Regions from separate parts of the Homo sapiens genome. Here all the other regions are linked to region 2. The links are contacts of gene promoters, found by promoter capture Hi-C in human tissues and cell types (Jung and others, 2019). All regions are on one chromosome and are shown on one strand. Each heading gives the region's core, a stretch centred on a gene start or on the middle of the fragment in contact. The rest is flanking DNA. Distances are from core to core; before and after follow the strand shown. Region 1 holds the start of PACSIN2 (protein kinase C and casein kinase substrate in neurons 2). Region 2 holds the start of POLDIP3 (DNA polymerase delta interacting protein 3). Region 3 overlaps NDUFA6-DT (NDUFA6 divergent transcript).

What was found. Contacts are between HindIII fragments. The study calls those that stand out against the background at their distance.
Region 1: a contact is called between the fragment with the promoter of PACSIN2 here and the fragment with the promoter of POLDIP3 in region 2, in 1 of the 25 tissues and cell types used here (spleen).
Region 3: a contact is called between a fragment that was not itself captured here and the fragment with the promoter of POLDIP3 in region 2, in 1 of the 25 tissues and cell types used here (dorsolateral prefrontal cortex).

The regions. Positions count from the first base shown.
Region 1 is chr22:43,013,840-43,018,101 of GRCh38, reverse strand. It overlaps PACSIN2 (protein kinase C and casein kinase substrate in neurons 2), which reads left to right and starts at 2,953. Exons shown (of 11, transcript NM_001184970.3): 1 at 2,953-3,081. RefSeq lists enhancers at 2,466-2,665, 2,648-3,351 and silencers at 2,786-2,975, 2,986-3,035, 3,156-3,225. The HindIII fragment of the contact is 29,159 bases long and covers 1-4,262 here.
Region 2 is chr22:42,613,309-42,618,067 of GRCh38, reverse strand. It overlaps POLDIP3 (DNA polymerase delta interacting protein 3), which reads left to right and starts at 3,185. Exons shown (of 9, transcript NM_032311.5): 1 at 3,185-3,269. The coding sequence starts at 3,211. RNU12 (RNA, U12 small nuclear) reads right to left here and starts at 2,824; the gene lies at 2,675-2,824. LOC124905127 (a long non-coding RNA gene) reads left to right here and starts at 3,289. Exons shown (of 2, transcript XR_007068118.1): 1 at 3,289-4,759. It overlaps CYB5R3 (cytochrome b5 reductase 3), which reads left to right. Exons shown (of 9, transcript NM_000398.7): 9 at 1-228. RefSeq lists enhancers at 2,198-2,327, 2,978-3,037, 3,118-3,297, 2,790-3,333, 3,334-3,877 and 1 more and silencers at 2,768-2,827, 3,368-3,697. The HindIII fragment of the contact is 15,212 bases long and covers 1-4,759 here.
Region 3 is chr22:42,108,187-42,112,716 of GRCh38, reverse strand. The region is part of intron 3 of NDUFA6-DT (NDUFA6 divergent transcript); the gene reads right to left. It also overlaps the pseudogene OLA1P1. Among named protein-coding and RNA genes, the nearest start is that of NDUFA6-DT, 20 kb to the right of the region's middle. The HindIII fragment of the contact is 3,273 bases long and covers 84-3,356 here.

The sequences.
Region 1 (4,262 bases), core at 1,704-4,203, 400 kb before region 2:
GCCCAAGGCCCCTTGGCTGAAAAGGGGTGGAGGCAGGATTGGGCTCCAGGCCTGTTCAAATATGACTGAAGGAGGAGGCTGGATGGAATGTTGTGAAATGTTTGTGGGGAACAAAGTTGGGGTGCTCACATGTGGCAACGGGGAGCTATCTTTGGAAAAATACCCTGATAAGCTGCCAGGACAGAAGGTATAAGGCCCAAAGAGTTCAGGCAATGATGTCAAGCTGCTAGGTGCAAGACAAGGAAAGGAATTTTGTGTTTGTCCTGAGAAGGAGGAGGAGAGAAAAGAAGAGGGGGAGAGTGCAGAAAACCAAAGGCATGTGAAGTGGCCAGAGTGTGGCATGGGTCACGTGACCAGGTGGTGACTCCTGGGGCCAGGCAGCCAAAAAGGCTCACGAGGCATCCTGTCTTGTTGCTGGGCAGTGCCAGGCTTGATGCCTCTCTCCAGCTTCCAGTCTTCAGGAACCCCTGCTAGACTCAGCAGTGCTTGGAGTGCAGGGGGATTCGTGCAACTGGATAAGGGGATGATGGTGAGACCAGTGAGCATGCGGTGTGTGGAAGAGCAGGAGGCCTGATGACAGACGCTTGTTCAGAAACCTTGGGAGAGGCTGCGTACAGTGGCTCGTGCGTGTAATCCCAGCACTTTGGGAGGATGAGGCAGGAGGATTGCTTGAGCCCAGGAGTTCAAGACGAGCCTGGGCAACATGGCGAGATTCTGTCTCTACAAAGATTTTAAAAAATAATTAACTGGGCATGGTGGTGCGCACCAGTGGTCGCAGCTACTTGGGAGGCTGAGGCAGGAGGATGGCTTGAGCCTAGGAGGTCAAGGCTGCAGTGAGCCATCATTGTGCCACTGCATTCCAGCCTGGGCATCAGAGTGAGACCCTGTCTCAAACAAACCAAAACAAAAACCCCCAAAAATTTGGGAGAGGCTCTGTATTTCTTTTTTTTTTTGAGGCGGAGTCTCACTCTGTTGCCCGGGCTGGAGTGCAGTGGCGCGATATCAGCTCACTGCAAGCTCCGCCTCCCGGGTTCACGCCATTCTCCTGCCTCAGCCTCCCGAGTAGCTGGGACCACAGGCGACCGCCACCACGCCTGGCTAATTTTTTGTATTTTTAGTAGAGACAGGGTTTCACCATGTTAGCCAGGATGGTCTTGATCTCCTGACCTCGTGATCCGCCCGTCTCGGCCTCCCAAAGTGCTAGGATTACAGGCGTGAGCCACAGCGCCCGACAAGGCTCTATATTTTTATAGGGCATGGAATTGCGATGTAAGCGGAACTTACCCAGATATGAAAGTGCTGAGAGCTGATGGCTGAGTTCTATCTATACAAATGGTCCACAGGTATTGTGGGTGGCAAAGAGGTCCCTGTTGGCTCAGTCCTGGAGAATGAGGAGAGACTTCTTGGCAGTGGTTTGTCCTGGCACTGTGTGTTGGTTTTTTTTTTTTTTTTTTGAGATGGAGTCTCGCACTGTCGCCAGGGCTGGAGTACAGTGGCGTGATCTTGGCTCACTGCAACCTCCGCCTCCCAGGTTCAAGTGATTCTCCTGCCTCAGACTCCCAAGTAGCTGGGATTACAGGTGCATGCCACCACACCCAGCTAATTTTTTGTATTTTTAGCAGAGACAGGCTTTCACTGTGTTGGCCAGGCTGGTCTCAAACTCCTGACCTTGTGATCTGCCCGCCTCGGCCTCCCAGAGTACTGGGATTCCAGGCGTGAGCCACCGTGCCTAGCCGGTTCTTTTGTTTCTTTCTCAATTATTGTCATAAGGACAATGCCACAGAGCAGTCTAGAAAGTAAACAACCACTAGATTTCTTTGTGGACTCTTTTCTCATACCTATCTATATGTAGCAGCAATTCTACAGTTTCTACCATTTTGTATCTAGCTTTTTCTTTTATTATTATTTTCTTTTATTTTACTTTTTAGAGAACTGGGTCTTGCTATGTGGCCCAGGTTGGCCTCAAACTCCTGGGCTGAAGCGATTCTCCTGCCTCGGCGTCCCAAGAAGCTGGGATTCCAGGTGCATGTCACCATGCCTGGCTCTATCTGGCTTTTTCTTTTAACGTTTTAGTTTAAGCATTTTCCCATAGTGCTACACAGTCATCATTATTATTCTCAAGGGTTGGGCTGACCTGGGTTTCTAATCCTGGCTCTGCCATTTACTCTCTTTACTCCACATCACCCCCAGCAAGTTACCTGGCTCACCCCTCACCTGGGGTTCCTCTCACCATCCTCTCCACCTGGATGACATGAAGCAGTGCTTGGACAGCGCGTAGGACAGTGCTCAGGAAGTGCTCTCCATTTTCCTTCAAGAGTATTTCCCTCTGCAGAACGGGGCTAATACCCTATCATGCAAGGTGATTGTGAGAATTGGAAAGAATGCGTGTGCATTGCCTGGTGCCTTGCCATCCAAATATATTTTATTAGAGAGAGCAGCAACATACGCCCCCCCAACCCCCCGTTTAAACTAAGCGGGTCCACGTGGAATGACGCTTTTGGCGCAAGTCGGAGGAGCTCCTAACGACATTAGCTTCTTTGAGTCCCTTGGGAGAGGAAACTTTCTGAAAGACTGTAGGATTACCTTCCCTGAACTTCCGGTCAGGTGCGGTGCTGCCCTGCCGCGCCCTCTTACCCCTGGATGCCGACGAAACCGCAAAACTCCAGCCCCGGGAAGCGCGTCTCAAGGACCACCACCAGCGAGCGGCTTTGGGAGAGTAATCTGCGCCACCCTCGCAGCCCATTAAATAGGCACTCCCCGTTTGATTGACAGGAGAAGTCACCAATGCGCGTCCTGGGGCTTTCCCTCGTCCTCACGCGGGGTGAGCCGCCTCTCTACTCATCTGGCCCAATCGGGGGCGCCGGGGAGGCTGTGGGGCGGGGCTCGGTGTCCGGTAGCCAATGGACAGAGCCCAGCGGGAGCGGCGGGGGCGGTGCGGTCGCGGCTGGCGGCAGAAGCGGCCGCAGGGGTCTGGGCAGGGCTGGGCAGTGCTGCCGGAGCAAAAGCGGTAGCGGGAGCCCGGCCGGAGCTGGGTCTGGAGACGCCGTGGCAGCCTGAACGGAGTGTGCGACGGATTGGGAGGTGAGTGGCCGCCGAGGTCAGGGGTCGCCGCGACGGTTGGGGCGCCGCGGGCGGGACGCGGGGGCGCTGGTCCGCGGCCGGGCCCGCGCCCCGTCAGGGCCGCCGCGCCGAGCTCCGCGCCCTGAGGGAAGCGGGTCGGGCCGCGCGGAACTTCCTGTCTCTGTGGGAGGGGGCGAGTGCTCGGGGCCCCGGGGGGCGCCTGGAGAAGACATCTTGGGGAGGACGAGGGCGAGTGGGGTCGGCTCGGGGAAGGGGCGGGGGCCCATGGGGGCGGCGCTGTGGGAGCGGGGCAGTTTTCCGGGGTCCGGGGCCTGCTGGAGAGGGAAGTGCAGGAGCAGGGCCGTCGGGGGTTAAGAGCTGCTAATGAGTGGGGGAGGTGTAGACAGCTGCAGAAGGGGGAGCTGGGGCGACTTTTGGAGGGACGCGATTTAGGAGAAAGCTGGGAATCCGAGACGTGCAGAGGTTAGGCGAGGGTGCCGGAGCAACGCTGGAGGGAAGGCGTGGCTGGGACGCGCCGGTGAGAGGGCAGGGCTTAGTCCTGGGGTGGCCTGGGGGGCGACGCAGGACACACGCGGGTGCGCTGATTTCGGGCGCTTTGATGAGCGGCCTCCATTTCCTTCCTTCCCACCCTCCGTGTCCCGGGGGGGGGGGGGTGGTGTGTGTGTGTCTGTGTGTGTGTGTGTGTGTGTGTGTGTGTGTAGGGCGGGGGGAGCAAAGCCCTTACCGCAGCACGTCCTAGGGCTGGGGCCAAGCAGGAGAGGCCGGGGAGGTTTGCCCTTGTGACCCTCCTCAGAGTTTCCCCAGACTCACTGAATCAGAAATCCGAACTCCTTACTCCTCTAGGGCTTTCAAGCCTGGCCAGGCATCCTGAGAGGTCCGCAATTGGAGAGGTAGTGATTGCTGCTGCTGTTGAATTTCATTGATTCATTGGGTTTCGGCTCCATCAGAGAAGGTCGATTTTCTTTTCAGAAGGAGTTGGTTGGTCAGGGGAGCAAGCTGTGCTATTGCTTTGGGGCCCACACGGCTGCAGCCTTTGACGTATAACAGGACCTGGGGATGCCACTCTTGGCTTGGGTGCCTGAGGGAAGGTGGCCTTTGGCTGGGTGTGTGCACCATTCCTGGATCCTGTCTTCTCTTTTTCCCTCCGCCTGTCCGGTGTTTTTGTGGTTAAGGGGGTAGGC
Region 2 (4,759 bases), core at 1,936-4,435:
AGAGGATGCCATCTGCATGGTGGTAAATTACAGAGGTGATGAGGCAAGGTGGGTGTGGGGCTGTTCTTAAAACGGGGCAGCAGGAAGGCCCCAAGGAGATGGATTTGGGCTGGGACGGGAAGAGAGAGCTGGCCATGCTGGGGTGGGTGGGTGTTCAAATGGTGGAAACAGCAGACGCAAAGGCCCTGCCGTTGGAACCAGCTTGTGGAATAAACTTTCAGAAACAGATCGAAGAAGATAGGTGGCTGGAAGGGGCAGCAACGATGAGGCTGGAGAGGGAGGCGGGGCTAGGCTGGTGCTCCGGAGACTTGCTGGGTGGCCCTAGGAGCACAGTGAGGCCAGTGTGGCTGGAGGGGAGTGGGGAAGAAGAGGGGACGGGGCAGGTTCACAGGAAGGAGGGCCCAAGACCAACCTAGGGGACTAGGAGAGCCCTGTCTCCTCTCACTTCGCATTTTCCATTCTGTCTCTGGCCACCTCACTACCTACAGTGGCAGGAAAAGGAATCTCAGACCCAAAATGGCCTTCACACTGTGGCGGGGGACTGCTAGCAATGGACACGCGTTAGGTTTCATCCTCATTTCTGTCCCTGTCTGAGGCTGAAAGGCACAGGATTTGAACACAGGCCTGCCTGAGCCCACAAGAGGCTGCCTCCTGGGAAAGGGGACGTGGGAAAAGGGGATCAATTGGACCCGATTCCCACCCTCTCCAGGTCTGTTTCCCCATTCAGAAAATGGGAGAGGGCTCTAAGGCAGCGATTCTCCATACAGACTCGACACCTTTATTTATTATTTTTGGGACGGAGTCTCGCTCTGTCTCCCAGGCTGGAGTGCAGTGACATGATCTTGGCTCCCTGCAGCCTCTGCCTCCCAGGTTCAAGCGGTTCTATTGCCTCAGTCTCCGGAATACCTGGGGATTACAGGCGTGCACCACCACACCGGCTAATTTGTTTGTATTTTTAGTAGAGATGGGGTTTCACCATGTTGGTCAGACTGGTCTGAAACTCCTGACCTCAGGTGACCCACCCTCCTCGGCCTCCCAAAGTGCTGGGATCACAGGTGTGAGCCACCATGCCTGGCCAACACCTTTAAAATAACAGTTGTAACGGGCCCTTTACGCTGCAGAATTCACAGGCAGTATCACCTACCTATACGAAGAATTTTAAAAATCAACACAGCTCTAAATGAGTTGTAAAAGAACAAGAAAGGAGGCCGGGTGCTGTGTCTCATGCTTGTAATCCCAGCACTTTGGGAGGCCGAAGCAGGTGGATCACCTGAGGTCAGGAGTTCGAGACCAGCCTGGCCAACATTGTGAAACCCCCGTCTCTACTAAAAATACAAAAATTAGCCGGGCGTGGTGGCGTGCGCCTGTAATCCCAGCTACTCGGGTGGCTGAGACAGGAGAATCGCTTGAACCCGGGAGGCGGAGGCTGTGGTGAGCTGAGATTGTGCCACTGCACTCCAGCCTGGGCGACAGAGCGAGACACCGTCTCAAAAATAAAAATAAAATTGTCCTCCGCATCTGCCCTACACTGCCCAGCTGACCCCACTGGCCAGCCTGTCCTCCTCCCACCTCTTGCGCGTTCCTCCTGGCACGCCTGGAAGGGAGGAAAGGCTTAATGGTCCCGTTCTATGGGTGAGGAAAAGAGGTCTGGGAAGGAGCCCGGCGTGGTGGGGCGGGCCTGTAATCCCAGCTACTCAGGAGGCTGAGGCAGGAGGATTGCAGGATCGCTCTTACCCAGTTTCTTTCTTTCTTTCTTTTTTTTTTTTTTTTGAAACGGAGTCTTGCTCTGTCGCCTAGGCTGGAGTGCAATGGCGCGATCTCGGCTCACCGCAACCTCCGCCTCCCGAGTTCAAGCGATTCTTCTGCCTCAGGCTCCTGAGTAGGTGGGATTTCAGGCCGTGCCACCGCGCCCGGCTAATTTTTTTCTTTCTTTTTTTTTTTTTCAGTAGAGACGGGGTTTCTCCGTGTTGGCCAGGCTGGTCTCGACCTCCTGACTTCAGGTGATCCACCCGCCTCAGCCTCCCAAAGTGCTGAGATTACAGACATGAGCCACCGCTCCTGGCCTCTTACCCAGTTTCTGCACGGAGCTCCTGATGCCTGATGGCCAAGAGGACATAACCCCACCTGTTCTAAGGGCATGGAGTGTATTTTTAGAGTGATTGGACAAAATATGTGCCGAACACCTACGTCAGGTCTGGCGCATGCTGGAGGCTGGGGTTATATCAATGCAAAAGCCATTCCCTGTATTTAACACGTAAATGAATTAGTCTCTTTAACTCTCCCAACGCCCTATAAATTATTTGCTCCATTTTACATATTAAACGCTGTCACGAACTGAGCTGCTGTGTGAGGCCGGGGCCGGACTTATCTTTCTGAAGCACAGAGAAGCGGTTATACGCAGAAGTTTGGGAGAACTGGGTAAGGCCGCACACATGGAAATTGCCAGTTTCGTGGGTCCCAACGTCAATACTGTGGGCAACCTTAGACCGGCTCAAAGCGCAGCTGGGGACGGTGATGAAGTGCAGAGCGTCCACAGCCAGCGACAAGACTGCCAAGCAACTGGCAGCCTGAGTAACGGAGAAAACAACGAAAAAAACGCATTCACCACCTACCAACAAGAAACAAAAAACACGACCACCCCACAGTCAGTCTACTTTTTAGGCGTGAATAAGGTCGGGCAGATCGCAACTCCCAGGCATCCCGCAAAGTAGGCGGGTCACCTTGAGGGCGACCTTTACCCGCTCAAAAATTCGTCTCACATTAGCAGTGAGGATTCGGGCGTCACCCCGAATCGTTATTTTCCTTACTCATAAGTTTAAGGCATAAGGACGTTTTTAGTTTATTTCCTAGGTAATGAATTCTATTCTCATTAGGCGTATGATGACTATCGTAGTTGACTGTTGAGGTCATGATCCAGTTCCATTGAAGTTTGTCTCACTTGTTAATAATGTATTTTGTTGCTTTTCATTTAATTTTTTCCCTCGAGGAAAATAAATAATTCATAATGTGCCGAACTTCCGTATGCAGATGAGCAGCCAGCACCGCGAAGGCTCACGGGGAACGTCCCCGCCCCTTCCGGTTCTTGCCTGCTTTGAGCTGGCTGTCGCGAGAGTTGGTCCGCGGACGCCGGAAGTAGTTCGTCGCTCCCTAGCGGCCGAAGGGGCGGGCTCGCGGGGTCTCGACTGCTTTCGGCTTGCTCGGCGGAGCAAGATGGCGGACATCTCCCTGGACGAACTCATCAGGAAGCGCGGGGCGGCGGCGAAAGGACGGTGAGAGGCCTTTCCTTTCTTCGGGGTTTAGGGTCCTCGGCCTAGTGGAGCTCGAGGCGGGGGAGGTAGCGATCCGGGAGCGACGCGGAGGACCGGGTGCGCCCGCCCCCGACCACAGCCGCGCTCCTCATTGGCCGGCTGCCGCCGTCCCCGCCGTGGCCCCGACCGCCCGCCCACTGGCCGAGGCGCAGTCCCTCTGGCGGCCCTGGGAGGCCGACGGGGCCGCGGCGGGGACAGGGTGCCGCCTCGTGGACCTGAGGGGCTGCCCCCTGGGGCCCCCGCGTTCCGGGGTCCTGGGGTCTCGGCGGCGCAGCCTCCTTGCCTGTGTGGACTGGCATTTGGGCCCCGCTCCGTGATCTCGGCGCTGCCTGGTCTCCACCCATCTTAGAGTTGAGACAACCGAAGTTTAGTAGCGGGGAAGTGACTTGCTCCGACCGCCGAAGCTGAGGCGCAAGCCCAAATCCCCCTGCACGCGGCCCCTGTTAACACTCGCCTCTCTTTGTGCGGCGTTTTAAGTTTTCTGAGCCCTTTCATATACACGATGCCTCATTTAATCTTTTACAGTCCTGTTGTCTGCTAGCTATTCATGTTACCCACCTTTTACTGATGGGGAACTTGAGGCTGGAAGTGGTAGAGTGACTTGCCCGAGGCCACGGAGAACTGAGCGGCGGGCTGAGCGCGATTTAATTGCTGGCTGAGTTGGCCTCCTACATGGGCTTGAAAAACTGGTGTGTTGGGCAGGAGATTGGTTATTTCCTTAGGGAGAAGAAAGTGCTTGAGCTGGCTGAGGAGCCATGGAGGTGATTTGCAGTCATGTCTCCCAAACTTCCCCTAGACCCTTAAATGTTGTTAGTCATTTCAAGCCTTCGTGAGCTGAGTTCATCTGTATGAAGAAGTGAGAACTTTGCCCAATAGTTTCCCAACACACATTAAGTTTAAATGTCTTTGTAAATAGCCAGGATGTAAATATGTTAGATATTGTTTTCTCAGACATTTGTTCTCTCAGCAGATGTTTATTTTTATTTTTATGTTTTTTTTGAGACGGGGTGTTGCTCTGTCGCCCAGGCTGGAGTGCAGTGGTGCCATCTCGGCTCACTGCAACCTCCGCCTCCCCGGTTCCAGCGATTCTCCTGCCTCAGCCTCCCAAGTAGCAGGGACTACAGGTGTGCACCACCACGCCCGGCTAATTTTTGTATTTTTAGTAGAGATGGAAGTTTCACTGTGTTGGTCAGGCTGGTTTCGAACTCCTGACCTCAGGTGATCCTCCCGCCTCGGCCTCCTAAAGTGCTGGGATTACAGGCGTGAGCCACCGGCCCGGCCATTCCGCAGATGTTTATTAATACCACCCGTATGCCTGTGGTTAGGTTTTTCTCTTGATGTCTGAAATGTATCCCTCACCTCCTTCCCCATCCTGGACACTTGTATCAACTACAACTGCCACCACCACCTCATAATTCGCAGCCAGCACTTACCTGGCTTGTGGTTCGTAA
Region 3 (4,530 bases), core at 471-2,970, 500 kb after region 2:
GGGGGCCAGAAACTATAAAAGGTCCAGACCCTCGTTTATGCTTCTAAACAAAGCTTCCAGGGGGCCAGAAACTATAAAAGGTCCAGACCCTCGTTTATGCTTCTAAACAAAGCTTCCAGGGGGCCAGAAACTATAAACGGTCCGTCCAGACCGTTTGAAGGGCAGGCCACTTCAAAAGAGAATGTCCCAAACTGGAAAAGGAGAAAGAAGCCCTTCAACTCATGACTTTTGAGGAAGAACAGGGGGGTCAGGGGCTCTGTTTATCTCGAGTCCCACCAGGAGCCCTTGATAAATTTACAGGTGGGAACCAAACATGAGCTTATCACCTTTTAGTCAATTCAGGAGTGGCTCGCTCCTCCATTTGCTTCCCCCCATCCAACATTGCCTGCTCTTCAGAAGAACTTTTAGTCTCTGGGGTAAAAGGAGAAGGATTTAAAGCAAAAATCTTAGAAAGTACAGAAGTTAAATACCAAGATCGGCTGACTCATATCCAATTTTTGTTGATCCCTGAGGCAGAAACTAATCTATTAGGAAGAGACTTAATGCTAGAATTAGGCACAGGCTTACAAGTTGGTCCTAAAGGATTCTTTACCTCATTAAACCTACTCACCACCACAGATGAAAAATGCATTAATCCTAGTGTCTGGTCAAGGGAAGGAAACCGGGAGAAACTCTGAATCCCTCCAATCCACATCAAGTTAAGAATCCCCAGGGAAGTAGTAAGGAGGAAACAATACCCCAAACCCCTAGAGGGCAGGATAGGATTAAAGCCTATAATTGAAAGTCTTATTAAAGATGGGCTCCTTGAACCCTGTATGTCCCCGTATAACACTCCAATATTGCCAGTCAAGAAATTAGATGCGTCATACCGACTTGGTACAAGATCTTAGAGCCATCAAATAGTCCAAACTAACCATCCTGTTGTCCCCAACCCATACACCATTCTCAGCAAAATTCCAAAAAACCATCAGTTGTTTACAGTAATAGATTTAAAAGATGCCTTCTGGGCATGCCCCTTGGCTGAAGACAGCTGAGACATATTTGCTTTTGAGTGGTAGGATCCCCATTCAGGGCGAAAACAACATTATTGATGGACAGTTTTACCTCAAGGGTTTACAGACTCTCCAAACCTTTTTGGTCAAATTTTAGAACAAGTGTTAGAAAAAGTTGTCATCCCAAAGCAAATATGCCTGCTCCAGTACATGGATGATATTCTCGTATCTGTTGAAGATGTAGAGAAAGTAGCTGGCTTCTCTACACATATCCTTAACCATCTGGAGTTCGAGGGGTTATGGTTCTTAAAGGGAAAGCTTCAGTATGTGGAGCCTGAAGTTAAATATTTAGGCCACTTAATAAGTGCAGGTAAGCAAAGGATAGGACCTGAACGAGTTGAAGGCATCGTGTCCTTACCCTTGCCTCAAACTAAGCAATAACTCAGAAAATTTCTAGGATTAGTTGGATATTGATGCTTATGGATTGACTCATATGCCCTAAAAAGTAAACTTTTATATGAAAAGCTTACCCAGTGGAAACTGGACCGTCTCCTGTGGACTTCTGAGGAAGTCAATCAGGTTGAAGAGCTGAAATACAAACTCATAACTGCCCCTGTCTTAGCCTTAGCTTCCCTAGAAAAGCCATTTCATCTTTTTGTTAATGTAAATAACGGGGTAGCTTTAGGGGTTCTTACTCAAGAACATGGTGGTCACCGGCAGCCCGTAGCCTTCCTATCAAAAATTTTAGACCCAGTCACCTGTGGGTAGCCTCAGTGCATCCAATTCGTTGCAGCTACAGCAGTATTAGTTGAAGAAAGTAGAAAATTAATCTTTGGGGGGAAATTGACTGTAAGCACACCCCACCAAGTTAGAGCTATTTTAAATAAAAAAGCAGGAAGGTGGCTCACTGACTCCAGAATCTTAAAATAGGAGGCTATTTTACTAAAAAGATGATTTAACCTTGACTACTGATAACTCACTCAATCCGAGAGGTTTCTTAACAGGGGACCCAAATCTAAAAAGAGAACACTTATGTCTAGATCTAACTGACTACCAAACAAAGGTCAGGCCGGATCTAAGAGAGACCCCTTTCAAAATGGGGTGACACTTATTTATAGATGGTTGATCCCAAGCAATTAAAGGAGAAAAATACAATGGGTATTCAGTAATTGATGGAGAAACTCTTGAAGAAACAGAGTCAGGAAGGTTGCCCAATAGTTGGTCTGCCAAAGCATGTGAACTATTTGCACTCAGCCAGGTTTTAAAACACTTACAGAGCAAGGAAGGAACTATTCATACTGATTCTAAATACATTTTTGGAGTAGCTCATATATTTGGAAAAATTTGGGCTGAGCAAGGTCTTATTAATACTAAAGGCCAGGCCAGGCGCGGTGGCTCATGCCTGTAATCCCAGCACTTTGGGAGGCTGAGGTGGGCGGATCACGAGGTCAGGAGATCAAGACCATCCTGGCTAACATGGTGAAACCCCGTCTCTACTAAAAATACAAAAAAATTAGCCAGGTGTGGTAGCGGGATCCTGTAGTCCCAGCTACTCAGGAGGCTGAGGCAGGAGAATGGCGTGAACCCGGGAGGTGGAACTTGCAATGAGCTGAGATCGTGCCACTGCACTCCAGCCTGGGTGACAGAGCAAGACTCCGTCTCAAAAAAACACCAAAAAACAAAAAAAAACTAAAGGCCAAAATATCTTACCCACGAGGAGCTAATCGTCCATGTTTTAAACAATCTCCAGTTGCCAGAAGAAATAGCCATTGTACATGTCCCCGGACACCAAAACGACTTTTCCTTTACAAGTCAGGGAAATAACCTTGCAGATCAAGTGGCTAAACAGGCTGCCATTTCATCTGAAACACCTTTCACTTAACCCCTCGTCTTCCTCCCCCTGCTGCAACCCCTACCTTGTCTGCTGCAGAAAAGGAAAAATTAATAAAAATGGAGCCAAAGAAAACTCAGAAGGAAAATGGGTGTTACCAGATCAAAGAGAAATGCTATTCAAACCGCTCATGAGAGAAATCCTACCCACCTGCATCAAGGGACACACTGGGGACCCCAAGCCATGTGTGACACAGTTCTCAGGGTTTATGGGTATATACCCTAGCCAAACAGGTTATGGATAGTTGCTTAACATGTAAGGAAACCAACAAACAAGTTATAAAGAAATCATCCCTGGGCGGGGAGGGATTCAGGGCTAAGACCATTCCAAAGTGTTCAAACTGATTACATTGAAATGCCCCCAATCGGTTGCCTAAAGTACTTAGTAATAGCAGATCACCTCACTCACTGGGTCGAAGCTATTCCCTTTTCAAATGCAATGGCCAATCATGTAGTTAAAGCATTAATTGAAAATATAGTGCCCAGGTTTGGGCTAATAGAAAATATTGACTCAGACAGTGAAACCTATTTCATAGCACATATCATTAAAAAGCTATCCTAAGCGCTAGACATTAGATGGAAATATCATACTCCTTGGCACCCACCTTCATCAGGGAGAGTAGAAAGGATGAATCAGACCTTAAAGAACCATTTAACCAAGTTAGTTCTATAGATTCGGTTGCCAGGGATCAAATATCTTCCTATTGCCCTGTTAAGAATCCAAACGGCGGTTCCACCGCTGTCGCCGCCGTAGTGCGGCATGCCGCTCGGCGGAGGGGCCGGGCCTGCGTTCTCTCCTCCTTCCTCCCCGCCTCTGGCTGCCGGCAGGACCTTTCTCTCGCTGCTACTGGGACCCCGTGTCATAGCCCAGGCTGAGCACGATGCCCCCTCAAAAGGGAGGTGATGGAATTAAACCACCCCCAATCATTGGAAGATTTGGAACCTCACTGAAAATTGGTATTGTTGGATTGCCAAATGTTGGGAAATCTACTTTCTTCAATGTATTAACCAATAGTCAGGCTTCAGCAGAAAACTTCCCATTCTGCACTATTGATCCTAATGAGAGCAGAGTACCTGTGCCAGATGAAAGGTTTGACTTTCTTTGCCAATATCACAAACCAGCAAGCAAAATTCCTGCCTTTCTAAATGTAGTGGATATTGCTGGCCTTGTGAAAGGAGCTCACAATGGGCAGGGCCTGGGGAATGCTTTTTTATCTCATTTTAGTGCTTGTGATGGCATCTTTCATCTAACACGTGCTTTTGAAGATGATGATATCACACATGTTGAAGAAAGTGTAGATCCTATTCGAGATATAGAAATAATACATGAAGAGCTTCAGCTTAAAGATGAGGAATGACTGGGCCCATTATAGATAAACTAGAAAAGGTGGCTGTGAGAGGAGGAGATAAAAAACTAAAACCCAAATATGATATAATGTGCAAAGTAAAATCCTGGGTTATAGATCAAAAGAACCTGTTCGCTTCTATCATGATTGGAATGACAAAGAGATTGAAGTGTTGAATAAACACTTATTTTTGACTTCAAAACCAATGGTCTACTTGGTTAATCTTTCTGAAAAAGACTACATTAGAAAGAAAAACAAATGGCTGATAAAAATTAAAGAGTGGGTGGACAAGTATGACCCAG